Regions from separate parts of the Homo sapiens genome. Here all the other regions are linked to region 3. The links are contacts of gene promoters, found by promoter capture Hi-C in blood cells and fetal thymus (Javierre and others, 2016). All regions are on one chromosome and are shown on one strand. Each heading gives the region's core, a stretch centred on a gene start or on the middle of the fragment in contact. The rest is flanking DNA. Distances are from core to core; before and after follow the strand shown.

Region 1 (3,092 bases), core at 408-2,907, 1.1 Mb after region 3:
AACCCCATCTCTACTAAAAGTACAAAAATTAGCCGAGCATGGTGGTGGGCGCCTGTAATCCCAACTACTCAGGAGGCTGAGGCAGGAGAATTATTTGAACCTGGGAGGTGGAGGTTGCAGTGAGCCAAGATCGCGCCATTGCACTCCAGCCTGGGCAACAGGAGCGAAACTTCATCTCAAAACAACAACAACAACAACAACAAAAAGGAAACAGGATACATTTTCCTGTTATTTTTAAAATAGATTTATCGAGGCATAACTGGCATACAACACGGTGCATACACTGGAAGTATACAATCTGATAAATTTTGGCATATACATATACCTGATGAAGTGCAATTAATCAATCTGTTCTTTCATGGATCATGCTTTCAGTGTCTTATTTAAGAAATCTTTTCCAATCTCAAGATTAGAAGATTTTATGTCTTCCTGTAAGAATTTTACGGTTTGATCATTTCACATTTGGCTGTATGTACTGCTTTGAGTTAATTTGTATATGATATAAGTGATGATTCAAAGTTCATTTATTTTTCATATGAATATGAATTTTCCCAGAATCATATGTTAAAAAGACTGTCATTTTTAATGATTTTTTTTTTTACCTTTGCAAAAATCAGTTGTCCAAATATGAGTGAGTCTATTTCTGGATTCTTTATTCTGTCCATCAACCTATTTTTGTAACTTGTTGCCAAAATCACGTTGTAGTAATATAGTTGTTTATGTATAGTATCCAAAATAATACACAAAACATTATAAATAATAATTCAACAGTTTATAACTATAAGATTAATATACAGAAATGCATTCCTTTATTTTAGTACCACTCCAAGAGAGAAAAAAATTACATAAAAAAAGTAATTTCCAATAGCAACAAAACTACAAAGTACATAAGAACATCGAATACAATATATTTAAGAGTTTTAAAGGGAAACTTATAAAACTTTATTGGGAGATTTAAAGGACCTACTTAAGTGGGTGTATGTCTGATATTTTAAATGGGAAGATTTGATAAAATGAAGACAGCAGTGTTGTCAAATTAATCTATAAACTCCTATCCAAAATCTCAAAGGGTTTTTCATAGAATTTATCAGAATGATCCTAAAACCTAAATGAAAAAAATAAAGACAAAAACCTGCAAAACAAGTTGAATATGTTTATCAGGATGTACTATCCCTACTACTAGGTATCAATACTTACTACAAATGTATAATTATTAAATCAGTATGGCAGTGGCGTAGAAAAAAATGAACTAATAAATAGAGTGTGGAAACAGGACCACATGTAAATTAAAGCTTGGTATATAATCAAAGTGGCATTAAAAATCACAAGGAAAGAATGGCCAACTATAAAAAGTGTTCAGACAAATGACAATACACAGGGAATGATATATTCAGCCTTTCTCTTATATCATACACAAAATATATATCTGGTTGGATTAATTATCTAAATAGAATAGTAATGATGTTGAATAAAACACAGAATTTCTCAATACATTGAAGTAGAAGGAGGTTCCTTAAATAAGGCACAAAAAGGACAAGCCAGAAAAAAAAAATTTGTCAAATGTGATTGCATGCATATTCTCAATTTCTTTGTAGGAAACACACACATCCGTGCACACACACACACTAAACAAAGTGATTATACAAGGCAAAAACTGGGCAGATACCTGCAATACACACACACACACACACACACACACACACACACACACACATATATATATGGCTATACCTGCTATATATATATATATAGAGAGAGAGAGAGAGAGAGAGAGCTAATAGAGGTTTTGCTTTTGGAATACATGGAGAACCATGTATCAATAAGAAAACAACAGTCTATTTGAAAAGTGTGCAAAAGATGTGAATGAGCAATTTGCTCAAATATCCAATAAACATAAAAAAGATGTTTGACATTATTAGCAATTAATGACTTCCAGAGCAGCAACATATAAAGTGGAAGAAATAAGCCAAAGAACAGGAAAAGATGTTTATGAGCTGAAAATAACTGATTGTGAATTTTAGGGAAGCTTGAATACCCCCATCAGTAGAGTCAATGTTAATAAATTCTAAACTATCACTGTTAATGGCCTTATAATGTTTTTTCCTATATGTTGGTAAGCGCTGGAGAAACTCTACTTATACATGTAGAGTTCATGAGTGAAAATTAAAACTATTATCAGGACCATTTTCAAAATAAGGAATACATTAAAAATATTTGCAATGATAAAGCCATCCAAATGCCCCCATCCTACTGATGAAAGCAAGGAAGGACACTACCTTTGTTGAATATCTACTGTGACAATCAGCTTGGATGATTCCTACTTTTCTACTTGTCCATAAGAAGCTAATCTTCCTATAACCCTCTTATATAATAACAATCACATTTTAATCACATTTTATGTGATTGACTCAGTTTTTTCTCTGAAGTTATGTTGCCTTATAAATGAAAAACTTGCATTTTACTTCATAATATCTGTTAACTTAAAAAATGCTTGTATTTGCTATTGGCATAAAAGTCAGCCTTACAAATAGGCTGATAGACAAACCCCAAAGGAAGCCGAAGCTTAAGGAACACCAGCTCAGAGACACCAGAGGACATGGCTAAAGTGAATAAAAGAGAAATGAACCCATCCTTTCAGAGCTGATGTCCATGTTTGCAGGTTCAGGTTCTCAGAGGTGTGCACAGCATGGCTGGCCTTTCCTCAGTTGTCTTTTTCAGCAGAGAAACGGTTAAGTCTCTCGTCTCTAACCCAGCTCCTCTATGGTGCTTACCTCCTGATCCCTGGGGCGATCAGCAAACCGGGTCTGCCACCTTCTTTTCAGAGAGCTTAACTAGCAGAGGACTCAGGAGAGCATGCCCAAATAACCTAGGTGACTTTCAAAGCTACAAAGACTCTGACACTTCTGGACGGCTTCACATGTACCCCTAATAAACACTTCCCTTCACCCCCAGGCCCAGTGTGGGTAGGAGTGACAACTGGAGCTCTAATTGGCTGAGCTGGTTTGGGTTCTCACTAGCAGCCACAGAAGAAAATGTCTATAGAAACTTGTATCTGAGTCATGCCACATAGGAACTACACTGATTGGAAACAG
Region 2 (3,360 bases), core at 277-2,776, 1.1 Mb after region 3:
CTATTAGGTTGGTGCAAATGTAATTGCAGTTTTTCCCATTTAAAAGTAATGGCAAATGCCACAGCTACTTGTGCACCAACCTAATACTAATATTTCATAAATTGGGTGGTAGGTACATAGCTATTCATTGAGCTGGTGTACTTTTACATCTTAAACATGTGCTTAAAAGTATTCTGTATGCAGTATTCAACAATTTTAAGAAATCAAGGCCAGGTGCAGTGGCTCATGCCTGTAATTCCAGCACTTTGAGAGGCCGAGGTGGGTGGATCACTTGAGGTCAGGAGTTCGAGACCAGCCTGGCCAACATGGTGAAACTTTGTCTCTACTAAAAATATAAAAACTTAGCTGAGCTTGGTGGCGTGCACCAGTAATCCCTGCTACTCGGGAGGCTGAAGCTGGAGAATCGCTTGAAACTAGGAGGCAAAGGTTGCAGTGAGCCAAGATTGCATTACTGCACTCCAGCCTGGGCGACAGAGCGAGACTCTGTCTCCGAAGAAAAAATGAAAAGAAAACAAATCAAATGTTCTCACTGAATTTTTTTAAGTATTGGTAACTTGACATACCATACAAATTTTTTGCAATGATTTATGAAATTTACATTTTAAAAATCAACTTTCCAAAATTGAGAATGTCATTTTACCTTTTTGCTTTGTATGTCTAATTTATTTGGGGCCAATTATTCTTAGTCTAGGCTGCTTATGCGAAAAAGGTAAAAAAAAACCCTGAATATCAAAAAAATTATTATTTCTTTTATTAAGCCCATTTCTTTTTGTCTCTGTTACAAAAGCGGGCAATTTAAATCATTACTGAAAAAAAATCCAGAAAATGTAGCCAAACAAAAGCAGACAAAGAACAACACTCATAATCCCATCATCCAGAGAGAGAAGCACTACAGGTATTAACTCTTCTGCAGAAATCCCTTCAGATCATTTTCATTGCTATCCGTAAATTAATATAATTATGGAAAGTGTTTATTTTTGTTGTACATGCTTTATCATCAAGCATTATAGTCAGTCTAAATCAAAAGGAAGAAAACATTTAAATCTATCCCTTCTCTCTGTCTCTGTATCCTAAGGGATTTGTGAAATGATTCAGCCATTTCCCCGAGGCAGAAAAAAAAATAAAGCATGATAGAGAATAGTTTTTGTTACAAATGTCAACTCGAATCAATTTGGTAGTGGTTGCATGTACTTGAGCCATGAATTCTCAGTACTGAGGGCTCAGGAAGAGAAAGGTGAAGTAAGAGCATTGAGACCTTGTATCTGCCACCCGGGCCTACAGGGCCTCTGCTTATGTGACAGCTGTTACCTCTGTTTCCCCAGCTACGTGCTCAAGAATGCTCTCTGCTATGTTCTGCACTTTTTTCTGGACCTTCCTCCTTTGCTGAAAGATACCTAGTTTACTCTGTCTGATATAGAAAATGTATGTAAATTAAGAATTTTAAGGTACCACGTTTGTCTTGAAGTGAAAAAAAAATACTCTTAAAATATTATAAAGGATGCTTGGAAATCTGTAGTGGTTAGAAGTATTTAACATTTTAGTCTCTTAATTGGCAATATCATACATTGTATATTATCAAGAGTTCCCTAAGAAGGTAAGACCACTGAAAAGGAGAGCCTCAAAATTTCAATTCAATGCTTTATACTGGTGACTATGGATGTTCATTTTTCATTTCAGGGATATTATAGTGAAAGGAGGGATCAAATTGAGAAGAAATTGCAAAGAGTATGGAATTAGACTAGGGTCTCATATATTAAATCTCAATAAAATTTGAGACATCACATAATAAAGGTCCATTTTCATAAAATCTCATGTTACCACAAGCCAGATTATAAGCTGTCTTGGTAGAGTACATCTGGGCTTTGGGATGACTCCACTACCAGAGACAAGGGTGCTGGTTCCTGATTCAACATAAACACAATGCTACTGTAGGCTGAAAAGATCCTTCTTTAATTAGTTGTCCCAGCCTTCTCCTTTGTGCTTCAAGACAGGCAACTTTGTGTAGTAGAAAAAGCAGACACTTAAAACATTTTTAATGCATCTTCAAATCCTACTTCATTCACTAGCTAGTTGGCCTTGGGAGGGTTACTTAGCCTCTCTCTCTCTGATTCTTGTCTGTAAAATAAAAATATAATGCCTATCTTGCAGTAATGTTGTGAAAAGAAACAGGATAATGTGTGAATCACCTAGCACAATGAATAGCTCATAGTCTGAGCTTAATAAATGTTGGATGTGTCATGTATACCAGGGGAATAATAATATAGTATTTAATAAGTAAATTGCTATTTATTTTCATTTTAAAAATTTTATGGATTTTGGTGCTCTATATATCCACGGGCTCCTTTTCCAGCTTTAAGAGACAATTTAAATTTATTTCTTTGTAAGACTGCCTCTCTAAACTTTTCATAATTTCTGTGGCTTGCCATTTCTTTCCTGAGGTATGATCATAGACAGAATTGCAAAAGGCACTCTCAAGGCAGACACACCATGGCTCAGTAGACTCAGAGCTGGGACCAACCAGAAGAAGAATGCCTGTAACTATTTGTAGGTACCAGCAGGCTGGAGAGCACAGGTATGACATGGGCTGCTTCAAGACTTAGAGGTAACTTTCATTCCCTGAGGGTGAAGGATGATGGGGGGAATGGGGGGTATACAGAGACTAAACTGGCCTTTAGCGACAAAAACAAACAAAAAGTATTCCCTTCATCCTTCGATATTGTCACCTGCTTGTGATCTAGGTGATTTCCTACTCATTAGGTTGCTCTGAGATTTAGGCAGCTCCAAGGCACAGAAAATCTGGGATTGTAAAAAAGAAAATAAAGTCGGGAAGTAGGCAGATCCCTACCTCTCTTTCACCCCTACAAGGGCATGAATTCTTGAGCTGCAGGAGACAGAAAAGTCTGAATTCTGCCCCAGTCTCAGGCAAACCGCTAAGTCTTGTAACTGTGTAGTCTCTGAGACCTGACATTCCTTACTAGCCACTGTGCCAATACATCAGATTCTCAGCCCCTGCTCAGGATGAAGCCCTTTCACATACATATTTTATGTCATTTTAACAATAAAATTAGGAAATATCTCCCCAAATTTCATAACAGAATAAATTAGAAGGAATTAGAAGCAGAGGCTTCTAACTCCAAGGTGAATTATTGTCCCCTGGGCCATAGCTACATCCTCCCACTCTTTATTCCTTCCAGTCCCCTCACCTCCCAGCCTGCAACCCAAAATATTATCTTTAGGAAACTTTCACCAAATGTGGACACACACAATTTCACAGCCATAATGAAGAGCAGAATTATGCTAAGAACAGAGAGATAGTACAAGATAGTACAAGTAATTATACAGTAGGCAATCCAAGTGAGA
Region 3 (3,151 bases), core at 616-3,115:
CCTAGAATGGTGACTGGAAAATAGCAGTCTGGAGCTGAAAAAATATCTGTGGAATGTATGATTAATGAATGAACAAATGAAAAGCCTTATGTGTCTGTGTGTTGGTGTCTTTCTGTGTACGTTTGGGATTGCAGTCCTATTTCTCTGGCCAAAGTATGGCTCTATTCTTAAGCTGTGCTTGCCTGTGTTTTGGAATATATGAAGAATTCTCTGGGTCTGTGCATATGGGGCTTCTGCATATGAGCTTGGGTGTTTTCCTGCCTTTCTCTGTCTTCTAATTGTGTGTGGATGCGTCTGGACCACAGGCTGGTGTTAGTATCTGCGGAGGAAAGAGGAGCTGTGGCCGCTACACATCAACAGAGGGCACCAGAGAGCCACGCACCTACTTTCAGGGGCAGAAATTGAGAAAACTTGGCGGGGAGTGTTAGAGACCCAGGAGATCTGGGATCTGGGAGGAAAGAAGTGGAGACCTCTTTGGACCAACACATTACTGTAAAATTGTGCAATTCCAGCAACTTCTCTGTCCATTCCCTAGGGTCCAGACCTCTGGCTACCCGAGCAATCCTGTGAGCAGAAGTATCTGGTCAGGGGTGAGAAGAGGAGCTGGTTGCCAAACTGGGCCCTTAAGAAAGTGGAGATCCCTCCTGAATGCTCTCATGATTCTCAGGAATTCCCTTCCTTCCTAGTTCCTCCATGTCCCTACCCCAAAAGATCTCAAACTCCAGCGTGCTTAGAGATCTGACTGGTGGCTGTCTTCTCCTCTGGCTTGCATTCAGGGAGGTGAGGCCAGGTCTTGGCCCTTCAAAGCCATCCAGTTGGCTACCTTCTCCTTCGGGATGGGTGGAAGGCTAAGATGAACAAAGGAAGGGTCAACTGTGCCTCTTCCAGGCCGCTGAGTCCTCCAACGCCTAGCTGTGCTCAACCTTGACTGGGTGAAGCCAAGGCAGGGCCTCAAGGCAGGTCCAAGAGGCAGCTCCCATTCTCCAGTTCTGGGTTTTATAGGTGGGGAGAGGCATGTATGCCCCTCCCTTATCCAAGCATTCATTAGTCAATTGAGAATTCTTAATTTGGGGAATCTAGGGGCTAGACTTTGGGTGTGGAATTTAAAAAGAAAGGTCTTTATGTTTATTTAACTCCCTGCCCCCCACCCCACTCCTAGACACACACACGGAAACACACACACACACACACACACACACACACTCCCCATCACATCCTCTGAGCTAGAGGCTGATGTCCCTCAGCCCATGTTCCTCCTCCACTGCTTAGTTCCATAGCCCGCGACCAAGATTGCGTCTATAAATAGGAGGGGGTGGGGTGGCCAGGGGTCCCGTCGTGCCTGCCCCAGAACCCACGACGGTCACATTTTTCACCCCCTTTTGCCTTTGCCCTCAATTCCTTTCCCTCTTTGCTCTCCTTCCATCTCAGTTCCAGCGAGGGGGGTATGTGTGTGCGCGCGTTGTGGGGGGGCAGGGGGAGGGCTCGTGGAGGGAGGCGCCGTCGGAGGGAGAGTAGACGTCAGGCGGAGGGAGGGAGGCAGGCAGGCAGGGAGGCAGGGAGGGAGAGAGGGAAGGAAGAGAAGGGGAGAGAAAGGGGGAGCAAAGACCGAAAGAGACCCAGAGAGATACAGCTTGAGAGGAGAAATAATTAAAGGGGGAGGGCGACCAGGAGGAGAAAAAGGTCTGGGAGGAAAGAGAGATAAAGAGAATCGGAGGGCAGGGAAATGAGTTTGTGCGCGTGAGTGTGCGCGCGCGCGTGTGTGTGTGCAGGGGCGGGCGCGGGCGGGCGGGGGGCGGGCTCCCGGGCTCCCGGGCTCCCCTCCTCCCCAGCCCGCTCCTCTGGCTCGCTCGCCAACTCCGGGCCCCAGCCGCGGGCGGGCGCACGGCGGGCGGACAGCATGCTGAGCCTCCTCGTCTGGATCCTCACTCTCTCCGATACTTTCTCCCAAGGTAAGGGCCCCCAGCCCACCCCCGGACGCTCGGCTTCCCCCCGGGGCCGGGGCACTGCTTCCCCGGTGGGAGAGTGCTGGAGTGCCCCGCGGCCCGCGGCCAGTCCCCGGGTCCGGACGCCACGAGGCGGGGGCTCGGTCCGGGCGCAGAGCCCTGGGGGAGGGGGCGCGGAGTAACGAGGGGCTGGGGAGAATGAGTTTGCCGTTGATTTGCCCAAGTTGTTTCCTCTGGCTGCGCGGGAGAACCGAGCAATGGGGCCGCGAGGGCTGGAGGTCCGAGTAAAACGGGGAACCGAACGCTTTCTCTTGAGCTTCTGGCAGCCCTACCGACCCTCGCCCTCTGAGGCCGGGGTTCCGGACGCCTGAGTCCAGCCTAAGGGCAAGGCTGGGAAGAGGGTGGGATTTCGGATTTCGGGCGAGGGGGTGAGCGAAAAGCTGGGTCCCACCTCCCGAAGATGTTGCCAAGGGGATCCCCCTACTCCAGCCCAGCCCCTCGGGGGTCTGAGTCTGAATCACGGCTCCAGCCTGCCTGGGGCTGCCCCCTCTAGAGGAAGGGAGGGGTGTCTCGGCGCCTCTAGTGGGGATTTGGAACCCCTGCCCACGGAGGCTCTGGGTGGAGAGTGGAGTTCCACATACAGCTTCAGGCCCGCTTGATACAGAGGGGGGGAACTCACGGGGGCGGGGGCAGAGGCGGTGGGGGGAGGGGGCTGACACTCTACTTGGGCTCAGGAAAGTGTTGCTGTCTGGGGCTTATTTGACACTGGCAGGGGAGAGGCTGGGAGGTGAGGGAGGTGGTTGGGAGAGATGAGGATGTCAGTGTATCCTGGGCAGGGCTGGGGTTGGGGGAGGGAAGAGGGCTGAGGGAACCAAGGGTCCAGACTGCAGCAGGGACTGGGGTCTGTGGGAGTTGGTTCTTGCCTCCCAGGTCTGACTCTAAGGAAGACTGAATCCTGCTGAACTCCTTCCCTCCCCAAAAATGGAGCTGACACACAGAAATTGACACACAAACACCGTAAAACACTCACAGACACTGAGACAGACTACTCACCTACTGAGAGAGAGACATCCCCACAAACATCCCCCACACTGAGACAGACACATATACACAAAGACACGGAGACATCTGAGGAAGACAGATTCCTCCCCCAGATCGGCACACACTCACGCATTCATCCACCCGAACGTTACAACTATACACAGTAC
Region 4 (3,008 bases), core at 170-2,669, 1.0 Mb after region 3:
AGGAAGCTTTTTTTTTTTTTTTTTTTTTTTTTTGACGGAGTCTCACTCTGTCACCCAGGCTGGAGTGTAGTGGCACGATCTCCGCTCACTGCAACCTCCGTCTCCTGGGTTCAAGCAATTCTCCTGCCTCAGCCTCCCGAGTAGCTGGGACTGCAAGCGCTTGCCACCACACCTGGCTAATTTTTGGTATTTTTAGTGGAAACGAGGTCTCACTGTGTTAGCCAGGATGCTTTTGATCTCCGGAACTTGTGATTCGACCACCTCGGCCTCCCAACATGCTGGAATTACAGGCGTGAGCCACTGCGCCTGGCCCAATTAATAGCCCCTGAAATTTAGATATCTTGGTTATACACAAAGACATCATTCCTAAAATTAAAAAATTCATTAATTTAAAAGTTTTGGAATCCATACCTTGCACTGTCATCATGGAAGTGTACAGGTGTTAAGAGGTCAAGAGCAGTGACACTCTGTCCATAGGGAGACTCTGAAATCTACCATGAGACAAAGCCTCAGTTGAGTCTTAAGGTTGTATGGGAAGTAGTCAAAGAAAGAAATGTGGGAATGGCTTTCCAGGCAGTAAGAAGGAACTAGCAAAGTCATGAGGCATGAAGACACAAGGTGTCCGGCATCTTTGTGAAGCATAGATACAAGGAGTACAAAGGTACTAGAAGTAAAAAAGATGCAGCTTATTCAACACTTTCTGAGACAGTATAGGAAGCAAGGAATTTTGGGGAAGAAAAAGGAGAAATATTGAAGGATTTCAGTGGAATATAAATGTGGCTTATCGAGAGAAAACTGATTGTGCGAAAAGAAATAATTAGACAAATCAAGTCTGAAAGAAGAAAAATAAAACAACCAATAAAATCATTTCAGTGAATAAATACTGTGATGCTGCACTAGAAAGCATGCAGATTTTCAGCAAAGTTATGGTTTTATGGGTACAGAGAACAGAAGCCATGGTCTAGCACCAAAGAAGGGAGGATGCTAATGAAAGCCAACTAGGGAAGAGTCAAGGAGAATAGGGTCAGTGCCACAGCATGAAACTGTAGCGCTGTAGCAGAAAGTTATTCATATAAGGTGGGAGGCTGCAGCCCATTTACACCTAGGCCGCTCCAGTCATACTGGGTGTGGGAAGATTTAAGAAACAACAGGCAGGATTTGGGGAATAGGCTTCAGCCCCAGTAAAGGATAAGAAGAGGAACCAAGGGCTTTGACACTGCAGAGCTCATACTCTTAACACTGAGGCAATTGCTTGTTCTCAGACCTCCCTCTAACAACTGGACCCAACTCAACTATTCTCATTCAATGGGAATAATTTCTTAGACATTCCTAACCCAGCAGTTCTTCACTCAATTTCTACAGTAACACATTTGGTCGTTGAGTCCTTCTTTATCACACATATTCATGAACAACTCTTTCATATGGGCCACTCACTCACATAGGCATACATCTTTTAAATTGTCTGTATACATGTGTAACACTGTATATACCATTTTCTCTTGTAGGCTCACTTATGTCTGTAAAGATGGGAAAAAAATACAAGAACATTGTTCTACTAAAAGGATTAGAGGTCATCAATGATTATCATTTTAGAATGGTTAAGTCCTTACTGAGCAACGATTTAAAACTTAATTTAAAAATGAGAGAAGAGTATGACAAAATTCAGATTGCTGACTTGATGGAAGAAAAGTTCCGAGGTGATGCTGGTTTGGGCAAACTAATAAAAATTTTCGAAGATATACCAACGCTTGAAGACCTGGCTGAAACTCTTAAAAAAGAAAAGTTAAAAGGTAATTGGGAAGAGGGAACACCCACTCCCTGCAACCATCCCCAAACCCTCCCCAACATTGATTAGAGCCCCACCTCGGACATACTTGAGATGTGTTTTCCCCAGTTTGTGACTCAACAGCTGAGACAATGTTGGTACTTCAGAGGCCAACAAGTTGACAACTTAGTGCATTCCATTACTGGTGTAGATTGAAGTATTTCAGAATGTATATTTGGGATCAGTGAAAGAACAAAAGTGAGAGGGAGTTGAAGGGGGACTGAGACTTCCAGTACATTAGAAAGATTATATAATAATAAAATCATAAAAACTGTTTAAATTCAAGATATGTACATTTAGCCAATGAATGTATCTGTTCTATTGAGACCATTTAACCCATCACTACCCTTTATAATTTAAAAAAATGCAATACTTACATGTGAGCCTGCCTCTCAGAAGTGTGATCTCCTCTCTTGTTATATCAAGTTAAAAAAAAGGATTTGAAAAAGTCTAAGTCCAAAATCAGTATATCCTTCCTCATGGAAACCTTTGGCTGGTTTCTATAATTTGAATATCTTTACCTGGGGAATGTGACCTAGCAGTCTCCATCATGAAAACATTAGTTTTTAAAACAAAATGATCGGAGAACCGCATTGGGAAAGGGTTAACTGAAGCACATGGAGTTCAGAGAACAGGAAGCATGTGCTCAGTGCACAGGGGAGGAGTGAGGAAAGTGCTGAGGAGCATGAGTCAGTGCTTGTTCCTGTCTTGTGACTGCTGGTCTCCTTAAGGCCAGGCTGGGCTAATGCAGTAGAGCTAGACTAAAGCACAGCTGAACCCTCAAGCAGGAACTGAGAGCAAATTGTATTGAAACTGCTTCAGCTGTCGGAGATCGTTTATATGTCTTCCTTTTTTCTGCATTGGTTGGGAATAAAATTGAATCTATTCCAGTAAAAGGACCAGCCCTATCAAGAAAGAGGAAGAAGGAAGTGGATGCTACTTCACCTGCACCCTCCACAAGCAGCACTGTCAAAACTGAAGGAGCAGAGGCAACTCCTGGAGCTCAGGTAAGCTTCAGGAAGAGGAGCAGGCTTCAAGTCCCACAGAGGAAGCTCTGCTACGGCTCTTCCACTCAATCTCTCCAGCAGGCAGTTATTTCTTCATGTTTCCCATCAAGTTTCAGATTTACCAAATTGTATGATAATTGATCATCTTATTGATGCTCAAAGCAATGCACCAAACA

What was found. The method cuts DNA at HindIII sites, captures the fragments that hold promoters and counts their contacts. A CHiCAGO score of 5 or more calls a contact.
Region 1: a contact is called between a fragment that was not itself captured here and the fragment with the promoter of KIRREL1 in region 3, in 7 of 17 cell types (fetal thymus, naive CD4 T cells, endothelial precursors and 4 more). The highest score is 18.0, in fetal thymus.
Region 2: a fragment that was not itself captured here is called in contact with the fragment with the promoter of KIRREL1 in region 3 in 1 of 17 cell types (activated CD4 T cells); the score reaches 5.3 in activated CD4 T cells.
Region 4: a fragment that was not itself captured here is called in contact with the fragment with the promoter of KIRREL1 in region 3 in 1 of 17 cell types (fetal thymus); the score reaches 7.5 in fetal thymus.

What each region holds. Positions count from the first base shown.
Region 1 is chr1:159,073,862-159,076,953 of GRCh38, forward strand. It overlaps AIM2 (absent in melanoma 2), which reads right to left and starts at 2,905. Exons shown (of 6, transcript NM_004833.3): 1 at 2,772-2,905. The HindIII fragment of the contact is 734 bases long and covers 1,291-2,024 here.
Region 2 is chr1:159,094,208-159,097,567 of GRCh38, forward strand. It overlaps a transcript of AIM2 not described here. Among named protein-coding and RNA genes, the nearest start is that of AIM2, 19 kb to the left of the region's middle. The HindIII fragment of the contact is 6,509 bases long and covers 1-3,360 here.
Region 3 is chr1:157,991,780-157,994,930 of GRCh38, forward strand. KIRREL1 (kirre like nephrin family adhesion molecule 1) reads left to right here and starts at 1,866. Exons shown (of 15, transcript NM_018240.7): 1 at 1,866-1,949. The coding sequence starts at 1,898. The HindIII fragment of the contact is 5,747 bases long and covers 1-3,151 here.
Region 4 is chr1:159,013,156-159,016,163 of GRCh38, forward strand. It overlaps IFI16 (interferon gamma inducible protein 16), which reads left to right. Exons shown (of 12, transcript NM_001376587.1): 2 at 1,506-1,790; 3 at 2,717-2,832. The coding sequence starts at 1,526. It overlaps LOC124904432 (a long non-coding RNA gene), which reads right to left and starts at 895. Exons shown (of 2, transcript XR_007066671.1): 1 at 412-895; 2 at 1-325. RefSeq lists an enhancer at 1,862-3,008. The HindIII fragment of the contact is 2,831 bases long and covers 5-2,835 here.